Regions from separate parts of the Homo sapiens genome. Here all the other regions are linked to region 4. The links are contacts of gene promoters, found by promoter capture Hi-C in blood cells and fetal thymus (Javierre and others, 2016). All regions are on one chromosome and are shown on one strand. Each heading gives the region's core, a stretch centred on a gene start or on the middle of the fragment in contact. The rest is flanking DNA. Distances are from core to core; before and after follow the strand shown. Region 1 has its middle 6.7 kb from the start of H1-2. Region 2 has its middle 8.7 kb from the start of H1-1. Region 3 holds the start of HFE (homeostatic iron regulator). Region 4 holds the start of H3C12 (H3 clustered histone 12). Region 5 holds the start of TRIM38 (tripartite motif containing 38). Region 6 holds the start of H1-6 (H1.6 linker histone, cluster member). Region 7 holds the start of H2BC3 (H2B clustered histone 3).

Region 1 (3,508 bases), core at 424-2,923, 1.8 Mb after region 4:
GATCACCTGAGGTCAGGAATTCGATACCAGGCTGGCTAACATGGCGACCCCGTCTCTATCAAAAATGTAAAAGTTAGCCAGGTGTGGTGGCTCGCACCTGTGGCCCCAGCTACTCAGGAGGCTGAGGCAGGAGGATCGTTTGAGCCCTGGAGGTTGAGGCTGCAGAAAAATAGGAATATACTCTCTTTCAAGAGTTCGTGGTTTTGACTGCCACCTAGCGTACATCAGAAAAACCGCATGACATAGGAAATGCCTGTGACAGAGGGGTAAGGTGAGAGAGGTTGATGAAGAATGTATTGAAGGAGTGAAAACGCTTCCATCCCTCTACTTACTAAATATATTAGTTAAGTAGTTGGGGCATATTTTAATTCATGCATTTTGTAGATAGAAAAACAAAAGTTTTATTCTGTTTGATTTAGTTGATACTTTAATATGTGTGTGTTTAGGATGCATGATTTATAATCAGTCTGCAGCACTTCTTGGAGAAGTCTGAATTCTCATTCTCCATTTCCTTATTGGCAACGTGAGAATGATTACAATGGTGGTTGTCTCATAGAATGCAGGGAGTCAGAATGAAAATAGTCCATATAATGCCTGGTGCAGAGGAAGGGTTCAGTTAACTGTCTGTATTAATATTACTGATAACAGTCATGACAAACAAAAGCTTAACAACAACACCACCAACAACAGTTGCAGAATTGAGCCACCAATTTGCACACAAGATTGTAGGTAGGATGTTTTAGAAAAGTTATTATTTAATATATGTATATATTTTTGTACTTAAAATATGTCAGAGGTTGTTCTAAGAACTATTTAAATGTTAACTCCTTAATCCTCATAATGACCCATGAAACAGGTAGGCTTATTATTGTCTCTTTACATGTGAGAACACTGAGACACGAAAAGGTTTATTAACTCACCCAAAGTCACACAGCTGGTAAAACGGCAAAATTGAATTTGAACTCAGACATTCCAGGTTCCAAGACAGTCTAATTATTCTTTTGACTAATATACTAAGCTGCCTCTGTATTTTTCCTTGATTACTTTGTAAAAGTATGAGGAAAATATAAGTGCTTCAAGTAACCATGAAAAATATAAACAATCTATGTATCAACTGAAGCATAATTACAAATCCTTTGATAAGCAAACATAATAAAAATTTGATATCAATCAAAACTTTCATGTAATGTAAGCAGGTTGAGATGAATTCTATAGTAAAAAAGTGCAGAGTGCTGGAATACCATGCTCCTAATATATTGGCTAGGCACACCTGCCTGCTATCAAAGGTATGCACACACCTTGGATACAGAAAGTTGGGACTGGGTAGTTATGTGAGTGTCATCAGAATTCTTTCCCACTTGGGAAAGAATTGTCCATCATAAGCTTGGATGATGGACAAGGAGTGAGCTCCCAGAACAGTGATGTGGGGATACATCCTCACATCACAGTGAGAATGAGTGTTCTAGACTGTTTACACACCTACCACTCCTAAATGCACACATATAATTGCTTGCACACACACACATACACACTCATCTCTTCTCTGGTGGTCCAGCTCTATCTCTTATCATTAGGCTTCTTGGGGCTAGTACCTAGGGCCTGTATCCTTTCAGAGGCAGCTAAGGGAAGCACACATAATTAGAAAGAATGAACCAGCTTGTTGGATTTGGTCTCTTCGCATCCAGCCCTCCAAGTTAAGGAGAGTACCATCTTTCTTAGGGTCACCAAAGGAAAAAAAAAAAAAAGAAAGAAACAGAAGGATATCATACAGCAAGGATCTAATGCAAATATGCCTCAAATGAGAGGCTACTGTGTGCTGATCCCAATCCCAGGAACTGTATGCACATTATCTAATTTAATCCTCACTGTATTTCTGGGAGTATTATTCCCATTTTACAGAGAAGGAACTTGGCAGGGTAACCAAGCTCATGAATGGAGAAACTGGGATTAAATATAAAGCTTCCTTGCTCCAGAACTGCTGTCTTTCTGCTCTTCCACACTACCAGCTCAGCTGTGCTCTCTACATGCAGGCAGTTTTACAAGTTTCAGATTAGCCTGGGACTTCCAGGGTTTTGAATGGGTTAGGGAATGGGGAACTTTTGGGTTTACTTTCCATTTTTTCTTCATACATATGTAATATATAACATAAATCTATGGTATATATGATAAATATATGGCTACATATGAACTATATAATCACATATATGCATTATAAATAAATATTAATTTTATAATATTTTAAAGGTTATCAAATAAATATTAATATAAATAATTAAATAATTAATACTCAGCTTTGTTTTCCAAAGTGATAAATGCCTATATTTAGCAAAATATTTTTTGGAGGCCTGATAGTTTTTAGGAGTGTAAAGAAGTCCTGATATCTAAATGTTTAAGAACCACTATTTTAGGCTGTTGTCTTCTGTCTTATTTTCCCAGCTAGACTGGTAAATACTTGAAGGCAAACGTTTAGCCAGCACATTAACATTTTATGTTTTTATTCTTTTGTGCTCTCAGTGGCTGTGTCTTTTCTATCGATTTCTCACACTGTATGATGGTTATATTTGTCTGTATCTGTCCCACCAGGTATAAGTTCTTGAGAGGACACACTGCTAGGCTGATCTTAGTTTTTATTATTTCTCCTGGTGTCCTGTGCTTAACAAGTGCTCATTAAGTGTGTAAAAACACAGCACAGTAAAAAACTAGACATTAAAAAATAATGTCAACCAATCTATTGAAATTTGCATTTCCATGTTTCTTCCAATATAGTCATTGTGTCAGGTTATGTACTTATTCTGATGAAGACTATTGCCTAATATACGTTTGCATCTTGTGCTTTATAACTGCCTTCATATAGACACAGATTGAGAAGGTGTAAAAATGTGCATATCCTCACAATTGACAAATTCTTATCCTTTGAGGGTAGGTTTGACTTTCTGAAATGCTTTGACATCATTTGAAAGAAGCTTGAAGAATAAGATAGCTGTTAATGACCCAGTTTCCTATGTCACTTATACAATTATAATGGCAATTTCAAAATGTTAGGTAAATATATTTTGCAATATATTGTTCCTTTTGTAATACTCTCTATGTATTTATTTATATTTTTAAATTTTATATTTATGTATTTATTTTTCTGGACAGAGTCTTGCTCTGTTGCCCAGGTTAGAGTGAAGTGTTGTGATCATAGCTCTCTGCAACTTCAAACTGCTTGGCAAAAGTGATCCTCCTGCCTCAGCCTCATGAGTAGAGTAGCGGGAACTACAGGCGCATGCCACTGCACCCAGCTAATCACTATTTATTATGCTCCTACTGTGTGCTTTAGTATATTTTCTGTTGTTTTCTGCAACCCATTTTGAGGGCGTGTTAGGGAATACAGATGCAGTAACTTTCGTCTCAGCCCTTGAGGTGAGGAAATATTTAGCCTCAGGTTTAATCTAATTGTTGGCCATTTGCCTTCAAAGATTGAAATATGAGCAAAACTGTGGCTCTGGGTTATATGTTAAAAAAA
Region 2 (3,209 bases), core at 622-3,121, 1.9 Mb after region 4:
ACACAGGCAGAGACTGAGGTTATGCAGCTGCAGGTCAAGGAATGTCAAAGGTTGCCAGCAAGTACGAGAAGCTAGGAAGAGTCAAGGAAGGATTTTCCTACAGGCTTCAGTGGAAGCATAGATCTAATGATACCTTCATGTCAGATTTCTAGCTTCCAGAACTACAAGAGAATATATTTGTTGTTTTAAGCCACCCTAGCTTCTAGCTCTTTGTTACAGCAGCCCTAGGAAACTAATATAGGCACAATCCAGGCAAGTTCCAAATATGAGCTTCCAGTTGTCCTCTCCCAGTAATATGAACAGTATTACTTTCCCAGCATTAATGTGTGACAATACACATGACGTACAGAGCAGTCCCCACTTATGCACAAAACATATGTTCCAGGACCTCCAGTGGATGTCTGAAACCATGGATAGTACTGAACTCTATATAGCTGTTTTTTCCTATACAGACACAGCTATGATAAGGCTTAATTTATAAATTAGGCACAGTAAGAGATTAATAACAATAAATTAGAATAATTGTTAAGAATATACTGTATAAAAGTTAGGTGAATGTTTATTTCTGAAATTTACCGTTTATTATTTTTGGACTGCAGTAGACCACAGGAACTAAAACCATGTAGAAACCGTATACAAGAGAACTGTATTTCACCCGAGCCTCAGTGTGCAGTTTTAATGGCCTGCCATGGTTGACTGCTCACATGGCCGATCTTTTAGTCTACCTCCACAGGTAGAGCTGATACTGTGTGGCTCAAAGTTCCTATTATAAATCACATTGTTGACTGTGTGGTGGTCAAAACCTCCAGGTAAACAAAGACACACTTATCAGTGAGAACATTTCAAGGGTCTAAAATTCATCTCCCAGTAGCTGAGGGCAAAGGCTAGACCTCTTTTTGGGTAAGATAAATTTTTTACCATATACTTTATTTTGCTTTTCATGTTTAACTTTATTTTGCTTTTCATGTTAGTTCCCCTGGAATTGTTTTTTGTGTATAGTGTGAAGTAGGGGGTCAAGTTTCTTTTTTTTTCCTTTTTGTTCTTTTTCTGTTTAAAAGGCTATACAATTGTCCCATGCCATTTATTTACAAGAGTCCTTTCACCATTGTTGTATGGTGCCACTTTAGATGTAAATCAATGTCCATATTTGTTTGAGCCTGTTCCATTCGTTTGTCTATTTTTGGACAACACTGCCCTGATTATTGTCATTTTATCAGTTTTGATATTTAATAAAGCAACAGATTTGTTTATTTTGGGCCCTTGGATTTGTGTATTAAATTTGAACCCTGTTTGTCAATTTCTATAATAAAGCTTATTGGGAATCTGATTAGGATTACAATGGTTTTGTAGATCAGTTTGGGGACAATTAATACCTTTAAAATATTGACCGCTTCAACTGTAAATATACTCCTCCATTATTTAGTTTTCCTGTTTAATTTATCTGAGTAATACATTATAGTTTTCTTCGTAGAAGTCAGATACGTAGAAAATTCAAAGCCCAAGTGCAATAGCTCATGTCTGTAATACCAGCACTTTGGGAGGCCGATGTGGGTGGATCACCTGAGGTCAGGAGTTTGAGACCAGACTGGCCAACATGGTGAAACCTCATCTCTAGTAAAAATACAAAAATTAGCTGGGTGTGGTGGCGGGCACCTGTAATCCCAGCTAATCAGGAGACTGAGGCAGGAGAATCGCTTGAACCCAGGAGGCAGAGGTTGCAGTGAGCCAAGTTCCTGTCACTGCACCCCACCCTGGGCGACAGAGCGAGACTTCGTCTCAAAAAAACAAAAAAAAGAACATTCAAATAATCAATGTAGATAATTCAAATAACTAAAAAATGAACAGTTATTAAAATATCAGGATATAAAAGCAAAAAAATCAATAACCTCCATATATACAAAATGGCCAGTTAGAGAAAAAAAAAAGAATAGGCGAGACTTAAAAAGGCTGGGAATCTCCCTGAAAATCTTTGAGAGCCTTGGCCCTGCCCTCAGGGATTTCTCTGGCTTCATGCCCAGATACGGGTACAGTTCCTTGTTTAAAAAAATTTTGCTCCATCAATCAACAAGGGGCTCCTTCCTCAGAGCACAAGGACCTCCATAACACCGGACACTAGATGTCTAAGGGACACCTCTTAAGGAAGTTAGACTTCCAAAGAATGGTGTTTCCTCTGTCCCCAAACTCTGGAACTCACAGCACAACTGCTCCTTGGAGTTCGGTTTCAAATCTACAAGGCTGTCATGGAGGTTGCAGACCAAGTCCGTGGCCTCAGTGTCCGGATGTACGGTGGCCTTGGCACCTGAATGTGAGAACATGACCTCCCTGAAACCACCACAAGTATTGTTTCATGTTATGTATGTTTTTTCTTATCTGAAATTCCTTTTCTTTAAAAATTCAAATTACATATTTTGCAAGCCCCTGAACAAGCTTCATGAGCATTTATTGAACCCACAGCTTTTAAAACCTACTGAACACTTTGCTCTATGTTGTCATTCACTATCCACCAATTATTTAATTATTGATCAATATTGTTTCCTTAGTGTTGGGATCATTTATGCATGTATTTCTTTTATATTGCATATTTTATATTTCTGCATTACAGTTATTACATATTACTTTTGCTACAGTAATAGTTCAAAAGTGTACATCCAAAATTTAGCTGTGAAGTGGATGGACTGAGGCAGAACTGGAGGCAAGAAAATGTCACAGTAATTCTAAAAAAGATGATGTACAATTAGAGCAAGAGAGTAGCACTGAAATTGAAGAAAAATAGATGCGTTTGAGAGAAAATTAGGAGGTAGAATCAACAGATTAGATGTAGGGATGAGAAGGGTCAAAGATGACACTAGGGTTTTTAACTGGAGCAAGTAGGTAGACAGAACATTTCTTCCTGAAAGGGCAGGTCAGATCATGTGTTGTCTCAAAGGGCATGAAGAGTAGAAAGCCTGGGACAGATCCTGAGATGACCAATACCCATGGTGCAGGGAGAGGGAGGGAGATCTGCTAAAAAGACTGCAAATGTCAGGATAGTAGAAAATCATGAGTGTGTGATGTCCTGGAAGTTGAGACAGTATCACATTTGAGAACATTTAAATTGGTAACTCTGACAAAAAGCTGGAGGCCAACTGTGAATGCCCATGAGAGTGAGAAGCTCCCACACTTTTGTGGGCATCAGAAAGCCCACCAGGTTCCTGCAGTGAAGATCTGAG
Region 3 (3,357 bases), core at 1-2,500, 1.8 Mb after region 4:
GGCCTGGCTCGCGGGCCCATTTCCCCAGCTCTGGCCGCACGTCCCCGTTAAATCTCCGCTTCTTTTGGGGGGCGGGGAAACGGGGATGGCTCCAGAAGTCACCCTACAGCTATTGCCTAGGCTCAGGAGATGCCCAGTAAAACTTCCTGGTGAAAAGCAACAGGTCTTTCAGAACTTTAGTTCTCTCTCTCCTACAGCAGAAGGTACCTGCTTGTGAAACACTAGGTGATCCAGTGTCCCCCTTGGTTTTTAAATCCTGAAGGGGTGTTGTTGATTGGGGAAAGTAGCTTCGCAATGTTCTGATCTGAACTTTAGATATTTAAATATTTATGATTTTCAAAATTCAATCATACATTTAAAAATTTTATCTCAACCTTAGACCAACTTATGTCTTATTTGACTTAGAAATATAAAGCTTTTTCATTTTGTTTTTTGATTCAAATTAATTAAGTCATAACATTAACCAATTAGATCCTACTGAAACACCTTCCACAGCCTTCATAATTGAATTATCTGACAAGTGTTTCACAAACTTTACAGTATTGGGATTATCTGGAGAATGATTAAACATATTGAGGCCTGCTCCTAACCCCAGACACACTGATTTAATGGGTAATTGTTAGGTAGTTAGACATTAGCAGTTGGGAGGGGATGACAGAAGAGAGCGGAAAGGCTGTCACTAAGACAGCCACTGGCCCACCTAAATTCAGGCCCAAGACTACCCTAATGCCACCCTAAGGGATGGAGTTTATGATAAAGTCTGTGGCCAAAATATCCTGGAGAAAGAGAAAGGAGGGTACAGGTGGAAATTCCCTAAGGTGGCACATGCCCAACAACACAAAAGCCTGTCTTCAAGTTCACCCCAAGTTCATCATGCCATCATTATAATAGAATTTACATACAGTTTTGCCCCCCCATCCCTGGGAGGCTTTTCTTAACAAATTATAGGTAAGACCATGCACAGTTTAATTTTAGATTGTATAGCTATACACTTCAATCAAATAACATCATCCTGTCACTCAGATACAGCCCAAACCTCAACTCCTCCCCACAAACCCCATAAAAGCACCTTGAGCTCTGTAAAGAAGTGCTGAGTTCACTTCGCAGAAATAAGCCCGCTGTCCCTCAGAGTGTATTATTGTGCTTCAATAAACTTTGCTTTAAGCTTGCATTTTGGTGTTAGTTTGTAGTTCTTTGCTCACTATCACAAGAACTGAGATTGCTGGTTCAGAGCTCCGGCTATAATAATCTCCTCGGTTAAAGGATCCATCCCAATGCATAATTCCCAGTAACAGTATGGGATGCCACCTGGGCAATGGGATTTTAAAAGCTTTCCTTCTCCCTCAACGAAGTTTGGGAATTATTGCCTTAGACATTTCAAACAATATTAATAAATTTAATACACCTGATTTGCTCCAAACCTTTACATATCTAGCAAATTCAACAGGCATTATTTTTGTAAGCATGTATGCAAATTTTGGCAATTCAAGAAAATCAAACAGGATATCAGGGCCTCGACTGTAGGCAAACAGATACAATAACATTGGAAACATGTAGAATATTGATGATGGGCACATTGGGGCTGATAGTACTATTCCTTTTTTTCAATTTTTGGTAAGATATAATTAGCATACCATATAATTCATCTATGTAAAATGCAAAAATTGGCCCGGCTCAGTGGCTCACGCTTGTAATCCCAGCACTTTGGGCGGCCGAGGAAGGCAGATCACCTGAGATCAGGGGTTCGAGACCAGCCTGGCCAACATGGTGAAACCCCGTCTTTACTAAAAATACAAAAATTAGCCGGGCGTGATAGCAGGCAACTGTAATCCCAGCTACATTAGAGGCTGAGGCAGGAGAATCGCTTGAACCCGGGAGGCGTAGGTTGCAGTGAGCTAAGATCGTGCCATCACACTCCAGCATGGGAGACAAGAGCAAGACTTCATCTCAAAAAAAAAAAATTAGCTGGGTGTGGTGGCATGCACCTGTAATTCCAGCTACTCGGGAAGCTGAGACAGGAGAATCGCTTGAACCTGGGAGGCGGAGGTTGTGGTGAGCCGAGATCATGCCATTGCACTCCAGCCTGGGCAACAAGAGCGAAACTCCGTCTCAAAAATAAAATAAATAAAATAAAATGCAAAAATTAATGGATTTTAGTATATTTACAGAGATGTGCAACCATTACCAAAATTTTACATTTCTATCTCCCCAAAAAGAAACCATGTTCCCCTAATTCAGTACCCTTAATTCATCGCCTCCCAGATTCCTCCATTCTCCTCCTCCTCCCCTCCCAGCCCTAGACAATCTTTAATCTACTTTCTTTCTATTTGGAACATTTAGTATACATAGAGGCATATAATATATTGCTTTGCCGTGACTGGCTTCTTTCATTTAGCATAATGTTTTTATGTATGTTTTTCATGGACCAATAATATCTATTATAAGGACATACCACAACATATTTTATTTATTCATTCATCAGCCGATGGACATTGGTTTGTTTCTACTTTATGGCTATTGGGAATAGTGCTGTTATAAACATTTATGTACAAGTTTTTTTGTAGACTTATGTTTTGATTTCTTTTGGTTATATATCTAGAAGTGGGTTTGCTGGGTCATATGGTAACACTGTTTAACCTTTTGAGGAATTGCCACATTCTTTTCCAAAGTAAGCATTTTATCCTCCTATCAGCAGTGTATGAGAGTTCTGATTTCTCTCCATCTTTGCCTGGGTTTTTGAATCAGGGCCCCAGATAGAACAAAAATGTGGTTATTCAGTTGTTCCACCATCACTTGTTGAGAAGACTCTTTTTTCATTGAAGTGTTTTGGCACCCTTATCAAAAATCAATCTACCATAAATGTGAGAGTTTATTTCTGGAGTCTCAATTTTATCCCATTATGCTATAATCTATAATCCTATCTTTTTTTTTTTTTGACAGAGCCTCACTCTATTGCCCAGGTTGGAGTGCAGTGGCCCAATCCCGGCCACTGGCTCCTCCTCCCAGGTTCAAGCAATTCTCCTGCCTCAGCCTCCCAAGCAGCTGGGATTACAGGTACCTGCCACCATGCCTGGTTAATTTTTGTATTTTTAGTAGAGACGGGGTTTCACCATGTTGGTCAGGCTGGTCTGGAACTCCTGACCTCAGGTGATCTGCCCACCTCAGCCTCCCAAAGTGCTGGGATTACAGGCATGAGCCACCACACCCAGACTATAATCCTATCTTTATGTCAGGACTACACTGTCTTGATTACTATAGCTTTTTAGTAAATTGAATTCAAGAAGTTTCTCAACTTCAAATTTGATCTTTTTTTGGAAGACTATATTAGCTATTCTCAGTCTGCTGAATTTCCCTAGG
Region 4 (3,323 bases), core at 359-2,858:
TGGGTGGGGAGGGGAGAAATCTCTAGGGACCTGGAGTTCGAGACCACCCTGATAACGAGACCCCTGCCTCTTAAAAAAAAAATGACTGGGCGCGGTGGCTCACGCCTGTAATCCCAGCACTTTGGGAGGCCGAGGAGGGTGTATCACAAGGTCAAGAGATCGAGACCACCCAGGCAAACATGGTGAAACCCTGTCCCTACTAAAAACACAAAAATTAGCCGGGCGTGGTGGCGAGCGCTACTAAGGAGACAGGCAGGAGAATCGCTTGAACCCAGGAGGCAGAGGTTGCAGTGAGCCGAGATCACGCCACTGCACTCCAGCCTGGGCGACAGAGCGAGACTCCATCTAAAAAAAAGAAAGAAAAAAAATACCAGGCGCGAGGCCCTCGCCTGTATTTGGCGGACTGACAGCAGAAGGAACACTTGAGTCCCAGGAATTTGAGATTTCAGTGAGCCATGACCTCGCCACTGCACTCCAGCCTGGGTGACAAAGCGAGACCCCGTCTCAAAAAAAGAAAAACAAAACCCAAACAAAAGTATTTCTGGTGATCATTTGCTCCTGTGAATATAATAAATGTTAAACTAACCTTTTTGTTGTCTTTATGGGTCTTTATCAATACCAGAACCTGGTAGTTCTTTGATCAACTAAAATCTCCATCCTAATAAAATGCTGTTGTCAGAACTACCCAGATTCACTGGCAAAAATCTAATCACTGACCCAAACCTGTAATTCCGCGCATGCTAATGAAATTAAGCAATAATTTACATAATTAATCCAATCAGCCATTGGATTGCATTAAACTCAGTTAATGAAGAGGTCAGATACCATTTATTGGTATCATTTAGTCAAGCACCTATCAAACTCCTTCCCCACACCACACTGGACAAAACTAAAGTTTTGGTGTTTTAGAGAATGTGCCAGCCTAAGTTTAAATTGTTTTTGTTCTGGGTCTTGGTACAGTCATTAAAAGATTTAATTAAGCAGTTACAAAACGGAACTACTTTTTGGAAATACTAGCAAATACGTTGTTCTACTGTATGTATTTTTACACGATCCGAAATAGGAAAAATGACCCATTGGAAATGAGTTTAAGACTACGACTGACCTACACAAATTCTAGGTCAGATTATCTTTTCATTGGGGGAATCTTAACATGATTGGTTGAAAACAATAAATAAAAGTGGCGCGGAGGACGAGCGCAGTGGCTCACGCCTGTAATCTAAGCACTTTGGAAGTCCGAGGCAGGCGGATAACTTGAGATCAGGAGTTTGAGACCAGCCTGGCCAACATGGTGAAACCCCTTCTCTGCTAAAAAAAAATTAGCCGGGCGTCGTGGCAAGTGCCTGTAGTCCCAGCTACTCCGGAGGCTGAGGCAGAATCGCTTGAACCCGGGAGGCGGAGGTTGCAGTGAGCTGAGATCGCGCCACCACACTCCAGCCTAGGCGACAGAATTAGAAGCCGTCAGGTAAAAAAAAAAAAAAAAAAAAAAAAGTGGCAGGAACCAAATGAAGATAGTATTAACAACCAACCAGGTTTTTCCTACAACAGTTCTGACCAATCAGGATCAGATCATCGTTATAAATTCTGGTAGAAGCCACTGCTCATTCAGCTGCTTGCTTTCAGAGCATAGCTTTCTCAACTATGGCCCGGACGAAGCAGACAGCTCGCAAGTCTACCGGCGGCAAGGCACCGCGGAAGCAGCTGGCCACCAAGGCAGCGCGCAAAAGCGCTCCAGCGACTGGCGGTGTGAAGAAGCCCCACCGCTACAGGCCAGGCACCGTGGCCTTGCGTGAGATCCGCCGTTATCAGAAGTCGACTGAGCTGCTCATCCGCAAACTGCCATTTCAGCGCCTGGTGCGAGAAATCGCGCAGGATTTCAAAACCGACCTTCGTTTCCAGAGCTCGGCGGTGATGGCGCTGCAAGAGGCGTGCGAGGCCTATCTGGTGGGTCTCTTTGAAGACACCAACCTCTGTGCTATTCACGCCAAGCGTGTCACTATTATGCCTAAGGACATCCAGCTTGCGCGTCGTATCCGTGGCGAGCGAGCATAATCCCCTGCTCTATCTTGGGTTTCTTAATTGCTTCCAAGCTTCCAAAGGCTCTTTTCAGAGCCACTTACATTCTCACTGAGGATAGCTGTCACACCATTGGTCGACTGTCTTAAATCAACTTTAAAGCAGGGATAAACTGGCGGAAAGTCGTCAAGGGTTGTTCATTCTGATTCCTTGCAGTGTCCTTTGTCTTCTAAGACGGTCCTTTTCACTTGTCCTCTGTGACCCATCTCACAAGGGTCTCACTTTCTCCGAGGAAAGTCAGCAAATCTATATCCAAGGTCAATCCGCTTCAAGGGGAAAGCCAAAGTCCTTCCTGCACATGCTGTCCTTTGGGGATAGCATCTCCAGAACCCCATAACTAACAATTAGATTACAGGTTAAATGAGATGCCATTTTTAACTGAAACGGGCACTGCCCTTGGGTCCCCTGGAAGCTTGCTGAAAATCACGGACATGAGGCCGGTTGATTTAGCACATAGACACGGGAGACTTCAAAATGAGGACCCACCCACCAATGAGATACAGAAGTTTATATATCACCTTGAGATTATAGAAAGAGTGCAAGCTTGGAACCTGGGAAAACAGATTATAGGAGGGAGAAAGGAAGAGACTTGGCTAGCAAGGGGGGCGGGTCTTGTTATGTAGATGAAAACACATAGCTAGTAGTCCTCAGAAAAAATAGATGGTAAATGTCTCTTGTCAGGGTGGGCGTGGTGGCTCATGCCCTCCACTTTGGGAGGCAGTGGAAGGAGGATTCCCTGAGCCCAGGAGTTTGAGATCAGCCTGGGTAACAGCAAAATCCTGTCTCTACGAAAAACAAATAAAAAGAAAGGTGGGTGTTGCAGCGCACAACTGTAGTTCTAGCTGCTCAGAAGGCTGAGGCAGGAAGATTGCCTGAGCCCACGAGTTCAAGGATGCAGTGAACTATGATTGCACAATTGCACTCCAGCCTGGGTGACAGAGCAAGACAGTCTCTTAAAAAATAAAAATAAAAAAGGATCAGACTCTCAGTTAATCTCTCCTAGATCCAGGAAAGGACTAGAAAGGGAAAGCCTGGCAACAAATGGAAATTTCCCCCACAAAAGACTGATTTGCAGGGCCTCATCGGTCTCCGGGCCCTGAGGCAGCCATTTCAAAATAGGGCAAAGAAATATCTTTTGGGGTAAAATATTTTTATTTCCTTCACTTTACTTTCCTCAAGAGACTGCTTTAAAGGTTAAATGCAGTAATATATTCTAGGGCCTTGGACAGTGCCCCAGAAAACACATT
Region 5 (3,081 bases), core at 1-2,500, 1.9 Mb after region 4:
TGTTCCCTTGGCTCCTACACCATCATGACAATAAAATTTGACTCCACCTCGACCCCCCCCATCCCCCACAAAGAACAACAACCAACACTGGTTAATAAGGTCGGTTGTTTTTTGTTTGTGTTTTTGTTGTTGTTGTTTTTGCTTTCAGGAGCAGAGGTATAATAGGCAAAAGAAAGAGAAAGGAGAATAGTGAATACCTCTTCTGCAGAGAGGGGTGCCTAAGTGGGACTTCCCTGGCTAATAACGTCTTGCTAGAGACCCAACCAGGAGGATAATGGAAGCAATCAAGGCAACCAGAACAACCAGAAGAACCGGTTTATCCTTTTTGTGCCCTCTCCCTAAACTGAGGGAATAAGAATTGGAAAGAAGGCTGCAGAGCAGAGGGTTTGCTCCTGAGGAGCAGTTATTTCTATGGGATCAGAGCTCCTGCAGAACTGGGGAGTTTACTTTTACTATCTCTTCTCCAGGACAGGACCTATCTCAAGAGACATGTTCAGAGTGATTGCAACATAAAGAGTTTGCAGACCCAAGGAGGTAGGGAAGGCAGAAAGAAGATGGGGGAGGCCAGGGATAGGCAACAGAGGAGTGACCAGGAGCGAAAAAGCCTGCCTCTTCTGAGAACCTAGCTGGGCTCTCCCTGTACCCCCGATCCCTCCCCCCCGCCCGCCCCCACACCCCTACTCCTGGGAGCTCCTCTAGGACAGGGGCAGAGTCAGGAGGAAGTTTGAAGAGTGCCTAGAATAAAAAACAGTAATTTAACTACAATTACCGGGTAGGCTGTTTTCCTCTCACAATTTGATCAGTCTCTTGAAGCCACACAGAATTTCTTCTGAAGACGTGTATTCCTTGGCAGGCTATTTCCTCCAGTGATACACCAGGCCCCTCTCTGCTGGGGTCACTGCTCTTCTGGGGAGATGGGGCTCCCCTCCTTCCAAGGCTCCAGGGTTCCTGTCCTGGGCCCCACTCATCTAAGTTCTGAATCTTCTGAGATTTGGTGTAAAGTCTGGTGAAAGAAAGAGCAGGAAAGAGGTGAGAGCTGTAAAACAAAGAAAGTCCTGACCATTTTCAGAGTTGGAGGGGCCCTGCTGTCACGAAATATATTCCCCACCCCACTTGCCATCAGTACACACTCACATATCCACTGAGAAAACCTTAGCCTGGACCTTTTCCGTAACCTTCACTGCTCAGACACTTACATATTCGCTGCTAGTCCCCTCTGTTGCTGCCACTTCCTGGGTCAGGAAGTTAACTCAGACCGGATTAAACTGAGAAGTGAAACTACTGTGGGAGGCGGGGCTCATAAGATTTAGGAGAAAACTAGTGACGTTGTTCATATCATTTGCACTCCGCCTCTCCGGTAAAGGAGGGGGAAACGTAGGAAGAAAATATCCTTCTTTTACAGCAATAAAAAGAAGGAACCAATTAATAACCCTGTAAACTATCATGTGACCCCAACACAGAGTATCTAAAAACAGGAAGCCTGCAGAGGTTCAGTTCACAGACTCTGATTTGAGATCTTTCTACTTTTGCCACCAACTCCCTTGGGAGTCCTTAAGCCTTCCTAGCTGATGTTACTTCTTTTGCTATTTATGGGTTGCTTGTGGTTCTATAACTGCTCTGAAGGGTGTGGTGGAAAAAGGGGTGGTAACAGCAGTAGGACTCATTGGCATCACAAAATTCATCTGAGTCAGCTTTCTATTCTTCTCTGTCCCGTTCTGTGTCTTGTTTTTCTCCTTGCTGTCCTTCTGCAGGACTCAGATCTTCTTCAATAGCGAGGGTCAGCCAGGATAGAAAATGGGAGTCACTAGTGGCCCAGCAGTGAGTGCCCCCAGCTTAGAGCTGTGTGGGATCCCTGGGACCATCACTCTGCTTTGTGCTTTGTGGAGAAAAGGCTGTGGGGTCCAGGGTCAAGTCCTTAATGACTTAGCTCCAGCTTCTCCACTTCAAAATGAAAGGAAAAGTACTATCACCACCCGTTAGAATTATTATTTCATGGGGAAAAAAGATGGATTACTATCTCACAATAAGAGCTTGTCACATTTATAAGTCTCAGGTGTAAGAGGCATTTATGATAACAACATAATAAATGCTGGCTTAAGTAGATGCAGTGGTCCAAGGGAACCAGTAAGGGGAGCTCAGGACACAGGTGGGAGGAGAAATTAAACTTGAATTCTGGGAGCCACTGGCCTGTCTGGGCCCCTGGCCTGCCTGCTGACCCTGATAGCCAATGGAACATGGAGTTTGGCCCAGCTGCAATCCCTCTGGTCCAACTACTCAAAATAAAGGCAAGATTGGGAAACACGTTCCTTTCTTCCTATACCAAGCAGAAGACTCTTCAGCACTGCACCCTCCTGGGTGCTCACAGAGCCTTCTGTTGTTTTGCCACCTACGATTCATCATGCCCTGGCATGATGGTTGCAGACCCCATGCATAGCATGGGACATTCTACTCCTGAGGCAACCAGCACACAGAGAGAGGAGAAAGAATGAGCCCCTGAATCCTTGGTCCCACGATGAGTCCTTGCAGATATCTACAACTTTCATTGTTGTGGATGTGACTCTGTACCCAGGCATGGCTCATTCCAGATCTGTCCTATTGTCAGAGGTGTTCAAACCAGAATGACTCCATTTTGAATGGGGGCTAGGTAAAATAAGGCTGAGACCTACTGGGCTGCATTCCCAGGAAGTTAGGCATTGTAAGTCACAGGATGAAATAGGCAGTTGGCACAAGACACAGGTCATAAAGATCTTGCTGATAAAACAGGTTGCAGTAAAGAAGCTGACCAAAACCCACCAAAATCAAGATGGCAACAAGAGTGGCCTCTAGTCATTCTCATTGCTCATTATACACGAATTATAATGTGTTAGCAAGTTAGAAGGCATTCCCACCAGCTCCATAGTGGTTTATAAATACCATGGCGATGTCAGGAAGCTACCCTATATAGTCTAAAAAGGGGAGGAACGCTTGGTTCTGGGAATTGCCCACATCTTTCCCAGAAAACATATGAATAATCCACTCCTTGTTTAGTACATAATCAAGAAATAACTGTAAGTATCTGTATTAGTCCATTTTCACACTGCT
Region 6 (3,574 bases), core at 54-2,553, 1.8 Mb after region 4:
ACTAAACTCATTCAGCATCCCAGAAAGGCCTCAGCCTTTGTGAGCAAGCTCTTATCTCCAGGCCTCTCACAAAGACCTGTTCCAGTAGAAGCTCAGGGGAGCACACTGGACATTATTCCAACAACCCTTTCCCCACAGCTATGCAGCCAAATCTGCCAGCTCAGTTAATTAATTAAGCAATTCAGAGATGAGGGTCTGCCCAGGCTGGAGTGCAGTAGCTGCGACCTCAAGCTCCTGGGCTCTAAGTGATCCTCTTCAGTCTACCCAGAAGCTGGGACTGCAGGCATGTGCCACCACACCCAGCTAATTTTTTTTTTTTTCAGTAGGGACCAGGCCAACCTAGTCTTGAACTCCTGGCCTCCAGCCTTCCGAAGTGCTGTAATTACAGGCATGAATCACTGCGCCCAGCCAACCCGCCCAGTCTTGTTAGACATGGGGTCTGTAGTTTCTAGTAGGTTCTTGAGTCTAGGGTTCCTACCTCATGTTTTATAGTTAATTTAGGGGAGGGACTGTGTCTGTTTATCTGGGGATGTAGGGGTGGGCAGGGGGATAGAGGGGACTTCAATTAATGAAACCAGAAGCAAAACTCAGTTGAGGACACCGGTCATGAGAGTGGCCTGATTATGGCCAATCTTACATAATGTGTGAGATCTTGATATTACCCCATCCTTGAGAGTCCTCTATAAAGCTACAGGGACTTGGGAGCACCTTTAATTACAGACAACCCATGTTCCTGTGGATTATGATTTATTAGATTGCACATGCCTAAATAAAGACATCCTCTGCAGTCTTTTGACAATTCTATAAGCATCTTCTGACTCCGCAATTAGACAGCTAAGAGATCTGTGTTACTTCCCTCACATATATAAATAATTTTAAATAAAAATCATGGCGTGAATAATTTCTTTCCTCTACCGATTTGAAGCTATCCATTTGGAAGACCACTCTGAAGAGATGAAATAAGTCTTCTGCCAAAGATTACTTATTAATTTACAAGGAAAAGGGGAAGTTTTGTTCCTCTCCGTGAATTTGATTGAAAATCGAGGGCTTTCTCGAATAGTTTTGGCATCCAGGGTCATTTTTCATTAAAAAGAGAAAAGTCATGTCAAATATGAATTTCCGCAGATTATTCAGCACTAGACCCTGGGAGATTCTGTAAAGAGGGGTTTTGTTATACTCAACTTTTCCGGGTAAAACAAACACAAATACTCCTCCTCCAAGGGGCGGGGGCGGTGCCTAGGTGATGCACCAATCACAGCGCGCCCTACCCTATATAAGGCCCCGAGGCCGCCCGGGTGTTTCATGCTTTTCGCTGGTTATTACATCTTGCGTTTCTCTGTTGTTATGTCTGAAACCGTGCCTGCAGCTTCTGCCAGTGCTGGTGTAGCCGCTATGGAGAAACTTCCAACCAAGAAGCGAGGGAGGAAGCCGGCTGGCTTGATAAGTGCAAGTCGCAAAGTGCCGAACCTCTCTGTGTCCAAGTTGATCACCGAGGCCCTTTCAGTGTCACAGGAACGAGTAGGTATGTCTTTGGTTGCGCTCAAGAAGGCATTGGCCGCTGCTGGCTACGACGTAGAGAAGAATAACAGCCGCATCAAACTGTCCCTCAAGAGCTTAGTGAACAAGGGAATCCTGGTGCAAACCAGGGGTACTGGTGCTTCCGGTTCCTTTAAGCTTAGTAAGAAGGTGATTCCTAAATCTACCAGAAGCAAGGCTAAAAAGTCAGTTTCTGCCAAGACCAAGAAGCTGGTTTTATCCAGGGACTCCAAGTCACCAAAGACTGCTAAAACCAATAAGAGAGCCAAGAAGCCGAGAGCGACAACTCCTAAAACTGTTAGGAGCGGGAGAAAGGCTAAAGGAGCCAAGGGTAAGCAACAGCAGAAGAGCCCAGTGAAGGCAAGGGCTTCGAAGTCAAAATTGACCCAACATCATGAAGTTAATGTTAGAAAGGCCACATCTAAGAAGTAAAGAGCTTTCCGGGAGGCCAATTTGGAAAGAACCCAAAGGCTCTTTTAAGAGCCACCCACATTATTTTAAGATGGCGTAACACTGGAAACAAGTTTCTGTGACAGTTATCTATAGGTTTAAGTTGTGATGCAGCTGAGTTGAAAAGGCTTGAGATTGGAGAATTAATTCAGGCCAGGCTTCAAGACCATCCTGGGCAACATAGCCAGACTACCATCTATACCAGGGGTCCTCATTTCCCCGGCCACCGACCGGTAACCGGTCCCTGTCCATGGCACGTTATGAATTGAGCCGCACAGCTGAGGGGTGAGCGAACATTAACCAACTGAGCTCCACCGCCTGTCAGGTTAGCTGCAGCATTAGATAGATTCTCATAAGCTCAAACTGTATTGTGAATGGCACATGCAAGGGATCTAGGTTTCAGGCTCCTTGTGACAATCTAATGCCTGATGATCTGAGGTTGGAGCAGTTTTAGTCCGGAAATCATTGCTCCCAGCCCCTGCACCCCCTGGTCCGTGGTATAATTGTCTTACACAAAACGGTCTCTTGTGTCAAAAAGGTTGGAGACTACTGGTTTTACAAAAAAGTAAATTAGTCAAGCATGGTTGGCACGCTCCCTTAGTCCCTGCACCCAGGCGTTTAAGGATACAGTGAGCTATGATGGTGCTACCTCACTCCAGCCTGGGTGACAGCGAGTCAGACGTTGTCTCAAAACTTAAAAAAAAAAAAAGTTAAAACAGAAAAAGGGCTTCTTGTCAGAGACTGCCGTATATCTAGAGGTCCAGGAACTAAAAAGTCTGATGTCCAATCCTGAAAAGCTCGATGGTGCACTAGAGGAGGCTTTTACATGTAAGAGCATCTAAGTTCTGGAAATGCCAGTGTCAGGGAAGGGAAGTGGAGAGCAATTTGGCATCCAAACATAACTTGCTGATACTTTTTTTTTTTTTAACACAAGTACTACATTCTAGTCTTTCTGTGGTGTCATTGTAACTATTGTTTCTTAATATGCTATCCACTGACTTCAAGGGATCAATAAATAGGAATCAAGGTGTCCCAGAATATGGATTAGGGGAGTTTTTTTGTTGTTGTTGTTGTTGTTGTTTTTCATCTATTCATTATCCTGTAGCTGAAATTTAGAATTTTCTTCCATTGTGTGTGACTGATAGAAATAACAAATTTGTAGGTTATAGTTGTTGCAAGAATCTGGAAATCGTGCTTGCTTATTTCCGAAGTACTATTAGGTATATCAACAAAAACACACATATTACGGTCAAGTGGTTTGATAATTATTTTAATATTATTGGTCTAATACAATTGTAACCCTATGAATTACTTTAAGTATCTTATTTATGAAAAGAATCTGTAAGTTTCATCAGACTACCAGAGCATACCGAAGACTGAAAAATTTTAAGAATCCAAACCTTAATGGAAATGTTGGAGGCTGCCCAATTAGGTTCTGAATTCCACCTTCCTGAATCACAAACTTGTTTTAACTCTCAGTCTGAGGTAAACTACGTTTCTCTTTAAACAGACATAGTTTAATTTTCCTTTGATTTTTGATTTAGTATTCTTACTGATCATCATAAATAACCAATGCTAATGTTAGTCT
Region 7 (3,380 bases), core at 15-2,514, 1.8 Mb after region 4:
CAGAGAATGAGATTCCATGCTATTTTGTTACTGGCGAACAGCAAGTTTCCTTGCCCTTTGTTTTCTAAGTCCAAGTCACATTCCCACCCTGCCTGTTCTCAAAATGTCTTATTTTGGTTGGCCTTAAGTTTCACTTTGTATACTCTAAAATGTACTTTCTAAAGGAAGGTGTTATTTTCTCGAAACTTAACTTTTTAACACCATTAGGCTAGGGGGGCGGTGGCTCACGCCTGTAATCCCAGCATTTTGGGAGGGCGAGATGGGACGATCACTAGAGGCCAGGAGTTCAAGACAACCCTGGCTAAAATGGTGAAACCCCGTCTCGCATAAAAATACAAAAACTAGCTGGGCGCGGTAGCAGACGCCTGTAATCCCAAGTACACAGGAGGCTGAGGCATGAGAACCGCGTGAAGCGGCGGGGTGGAGGTTGCAGTAAGCCGATATCGCGCCGCTGCACTCCAGCCTGGGTGACAGAACTAGACTGTCTCAAAACAAACCAATCCAAACGAAAAGCAAAAAATACCCTAACAGAAGCAAGTTATCATCCTTTCTTGTGTAACTATGGACGGCTCTGAAAAATGCCGTTTCAAGTGTAAGCTACGTTTTCTGATTTGAGTGTTTACTTGACCTTGGCCTTATCGTGGCTCTGTTATTTTGGCAACAGGACGGCCTGAATATTGGACAGGACGCCTCCCTGAGCAATAGTGACGTTGCCCAGCTGCTTGTTGACCTCCTCGTCGTTTCGGATGGCCAGCTGCAGGTGGCGGGGGATGATGCTGCGGGTCTTGTCACGTATGGCGCTGCCCACCAGTTCTAAGATCTCGGCGGCCAGGTATTGTAAGTACACTGGCGCACCGGCTCCGACCGGCTCAAAATAATTGCCCTTTCGAAAAAGATGACGGACTCTGCCCTATTGGGAACTGCAAGCCCGGTAGCGACGAACAAGTTTTTGCTTTAGCTCCATTTTCCACGTCCGCAAATAGCGACCTATGAAAGCAGCGGAAAACTGTGAAAGACAAGCAAGCTGGAATGGCGCCTGAACAAATCCTTTTATACAAACTGCAAGGCTGCAATAGGAAGCTATCCTATTGGTCAATTATGTTTGGTGCTTTATCCAATAGAAAAAGATAACATAAATTCCATATTTGCATAAACCCCACCCCTCAGTGAAACCGTGTTTCTTTTGTCCAATCAGAAGTGAGGAATCTTAAACCGTCATTTGAATCTCAGGACTATAAATACATGGGCTCTGAACTGTTCTCTGTACTACTCTGTAGTGGAGAGTGTTAGTAGCTTTTCTATTCTGTTTAGGAATAGCAATGCCTGAACCCTCTAAGTCTGCTCCAGCCCCTAAAAAGGGTTCTAAGAAGGCTATCACTAAGGCGCAGAAGAAGGATGGTAAGAAGCGTAAGCGCAGCCGCAAGGAGAGCTATTCTATCTATGTGTACAAGGTTCTGAAGCAGGTCCACCCCGACACCGGCATCTCATCCAAGGCCATGGGGATCATGAATTCCTTCGTCAACGACATCTTCGAGCGCATCGCGGGCGAGGCTTCTCGCCTGGCTCACTACAATAAGCGCTCGACCATCACCTCCAGGGAGATTCAGACGGCTGTGCGCCTGCTGCTGCCTGGGGAGCTGGCTAAGCATGCTGTGTCCGAGGGCACTAAGGCAGTTACCAAGTACACTAGCTCTAAATAAGTGCTTATGTAAGCACTTCCAAACCCAAAGGCTCTTTTCAGAGCCACCTACTTTGTCACAAGGAGAGCTATAACCACAATTTCTTAAGGTGGTGCTGCTGCTATTCTGTTTCAGTTCTAGAGGATCAACTGGAATGTTAGCGAAGACAAGTTTTAGAGCCAAGGTTAACTTGGACGGGGCCGTGCGCGGTGCCTCTTGCCTTTAATCCCGGCAATTTGGGAGGCCGAGGCGGGCGGATCACGAGGTCAGGAGATGGAGACCATCCTGCTTAACACGATGAAACCCCGTCTCTACTAAAAATACAAAATAATTAGCTGGGCGTGATGGTGGGCGCCTGTAGTCCCAGCTACTCGGGAGGCTGAGGCAGGAGAATGGCGTGAACGCGGGAGGCGGAGCTTGCAGTGAGCCGAGATCGCGCCATGGCACTCCAGCCTGGGTGACAGAGCGAGACTCCGTCTCAAAAAAAAAAAAAAAAAAAAATTAAAAAAATATGAAGTTTTGAAGCAGAAATTATTTTGTCGTATGTTCTTTCATAAATTTTTTGCCTGCCTGCCTTCTTCCTTTGTTACAGAACTCCAACACTTACCCAAAGGTAGCTGTTGGGTCAGGGTTTCTGTACTATAGTCCCTTCTGTGGTGGCCAGAAATATGTTACAGGAAAGAGGTCCCCATCCAGACCCCAAGAGAGGGTTCTTGGATCCCGCGCAAGAAAGAGTTCAGGGTGAGTCCGCAGTGCAAAGTAAATGCAAGTTTACTAAGAAAGTAAAGTGGTGAAACGACAACTACTCCATAGACGGAGCAGGACATTCCCGAAAGTAAGAGGAGGAAGGCATCCACCCTAGGTACAATACTTGTATATATGGGGAGATGTGCTCTGCTACAAGTTTGTGATAAAGGATTAATTTTCTTAGTTACTATATTTTGCAAGAATCAACATTATTATCTTTAAACAAAATTAAGAATGCCTTTGTTCTCCAGATATAGGGATATCTGGACACTCCTAAGTCTGAGTCTGTTTAGTAAACATTATTTATTTGTTCCCTTAACCGTAAACATCTAGAAGCTAGGAATGACTGACTTTCTGGGAATGCAGCCCAGAAAGTCTCAGCCTCATTTTCCTAGCCCTCACTCAAAATGGAGTTACTCTGGTTCAAGTAACTCTGACACTTTTCTTCTCTTTTTTTCTTCTTTTTTCCTTCCTTTATTTTTTATTTTTTATTTTTGAAATAAGAAATCAAGAATACTTGATGTTTCATCTAAAACAATACCCATAATTGATAAGCCAAAACAAAAACCTAGGTCTTCTAACTCAAAACTAGGATGTTTTGCTGTCTCTGCTGATACTCGGCTGATCGTTAATAGGTAATTAACAAACAAGCCTTGCTATGTCCCCCTCAGTTTATTACCATTAGATCATATGCCTACTGTCAATCATATTAATCCACAACTATGCATTTCACAAAACTTGCCATAAAAATTCACAGGTTTCCCGCTTCCCTCGAGTTTTCATTTCCGAAGGGTCCCATGTAATATAAAACTTATATTAAATACATTTGTATGCTTTTCTCTTGCTAATCTTTTTTTTTGTTTTTTGAGACTGAGCCTTGCTCTGTCACCCAGGCTGGAGTGCAATGGCGCGATCTCGGCTCACTGCAACCTCCGCTTCCCAGGTTCAAGCGAT

What was found. Contacts are between HindIII fragments. The CHiCAGO score rates a contact against its expected background, and 5 or more counts as called.
Region 1: a fragment that was not itself captured here is called in contact with the fragment with the promoter of H3C12 in region 4 in 6 of 17 cell types (fetal thymus, monocytes, non-activated CD4 T cells and 3 more); the score reaches 6.9 in fetal thymus.
Region 2: a fragment that was not itself captured here is called in contact with the fragment with the promoter of H3C12 in region 4 in 2 of 17 cell types (activated CD4 T cells and naive CD8 T cells); the score reaches 6.8 in activated CD4 T cells.
Region 3: a fragment that was not itself captured here is called in contact with the fragment with the promoter of H3C12 in region 4 in 1 of 17 cell types (fetal thymus); the score reaches 7.2 in fetal thymus.
Region 5: the fragment with the promoter of TRIM38 here is called in contact with the fragment with the promoter of H3C12 in region 4 in 5 of 17 cell types (non-activated CD4 T cells, activated CD4 T cells, monocytes and 2 more); the score reaches 13.2 in non-activated CD4 T cells.
Region 6: a contact is called between the fragment with the promoter of H1-6 here and the fragment with the promoter of H3C12 in region 4, in 14 of 17 cell types (activated CD4 T cells, naive B cells, M0 macrophages and 11 more). The highest score is 15.1, in activated CD4 T cells.
Region 7: a contact is called between the fragment with the promoter of H2BC3 here and the fragment with the promoter of H3C12 in region 4, in 17 of 17 cell types (total B cells, naive CD4 T cells, total CD4 T cells and 14 more). The highest score is 41.0, in total B cells.

Annotation. Positions count from the first base shown.
Region 1 is chr6:26,061,423-26,064,930 of GRCh38, reverse strand. No RefSeq gene overlaps it. Among named protein-coding and RNA genes, the nearest start is that of H1-2, 6.7 kb to the right of the region's middle. RefSeq lists a silencer at 165-304. The HindIII fragment of the contact is 576 bases long and covers 1,386-1,961 here.
Region 2 is chr6:26,007,461-26,010,669 of GRCh38, reverse strand. No RefSeq gene overlaps it. Among named protein-coding and RNA genes, the nearest start is that of H1-1, 8.7 kb to the left of the region's middle. The HindIII fragment of the contact is 1,116 bases long and covers 1,314-2,429 here.
Region 3 is chr6:26,084,104-26,087,460 of GRCh38, reverse strand. HFE (homeostatic iron regulator) reads right to left here and starts at 32. Exons shown (of 6, transcript NM_000410.4): 1 at 1-32. The coding sequence starts at 20. It also overlaps HFE-AS1. The HindIII fragment of the contact is 165 bases long and covers 1,168-1,332 here.
Region 4 is chr6:27,889,111-27,892,433 of GRCh38, reverse strand. It overlaps H3C12 (H3 clustered histone 12), which reads left to right and starts at 1,608. Exons shown (of 1, transcript NM_003535.3): 1 at 1,608-2,119. The coding sequence starts at 1,642. The coding sequence ends at 2,052. RefSeq lists enhancers at 1,636-1,855, 1,372-2,016, 2,076-2,375, 2,017-2,661, 2,662-3,306 and 1 more. The HindIII fragment of the contact is 2,915 bases long and covers 1-2,092 here.
Region 5 is chr6:25,960,971-25,964,051 of GRCh38, reverse strand. It overlaps TRIM38 (tripartite motif containing 38), which reads right to left and starts at 1,250. Exons shown (of 8, transcript NM_006355.5): 1 at 1,197-1,250; 2 at 770-1,003. The HindIII fragment of the contact is 6,907 bases long and covers 1-3,081 here.
Region 6 is chr6:26,105,864-26,109,437 of GRCh38, reverse strand. It overlaps H1-6 (H1.6 linker histone, cluster member), which reads left to right and starts at 1,303. Exons shown (of 1, transcript NM_005323.4): 1 at 1,303-2,026. The coding sequence starts at 1,345. The coding sequence ends at 1,968. The HindIII fragment of the contact is 5,524 bases long and covers 1-1,676 here.
Region 7 is chr6:26,041,597-26,044,976 of GRCh38, reverse strand. It overlaps H2BC3 (H2B clustered histone 3), which reads left to right and starts at 1,264. Exons shown (of 1, transcript NM_021062.3): 1 at 1,264-1,750. The coding sequence starts at 1,320. The coding sequence ends at 1,700. It also overlaps the pseudogene H2AC5P. RefSeq lists an enhancer at 781-1,020. The HindIII fragment of the contact is 16,277 bases long and covers 1-3,380 here.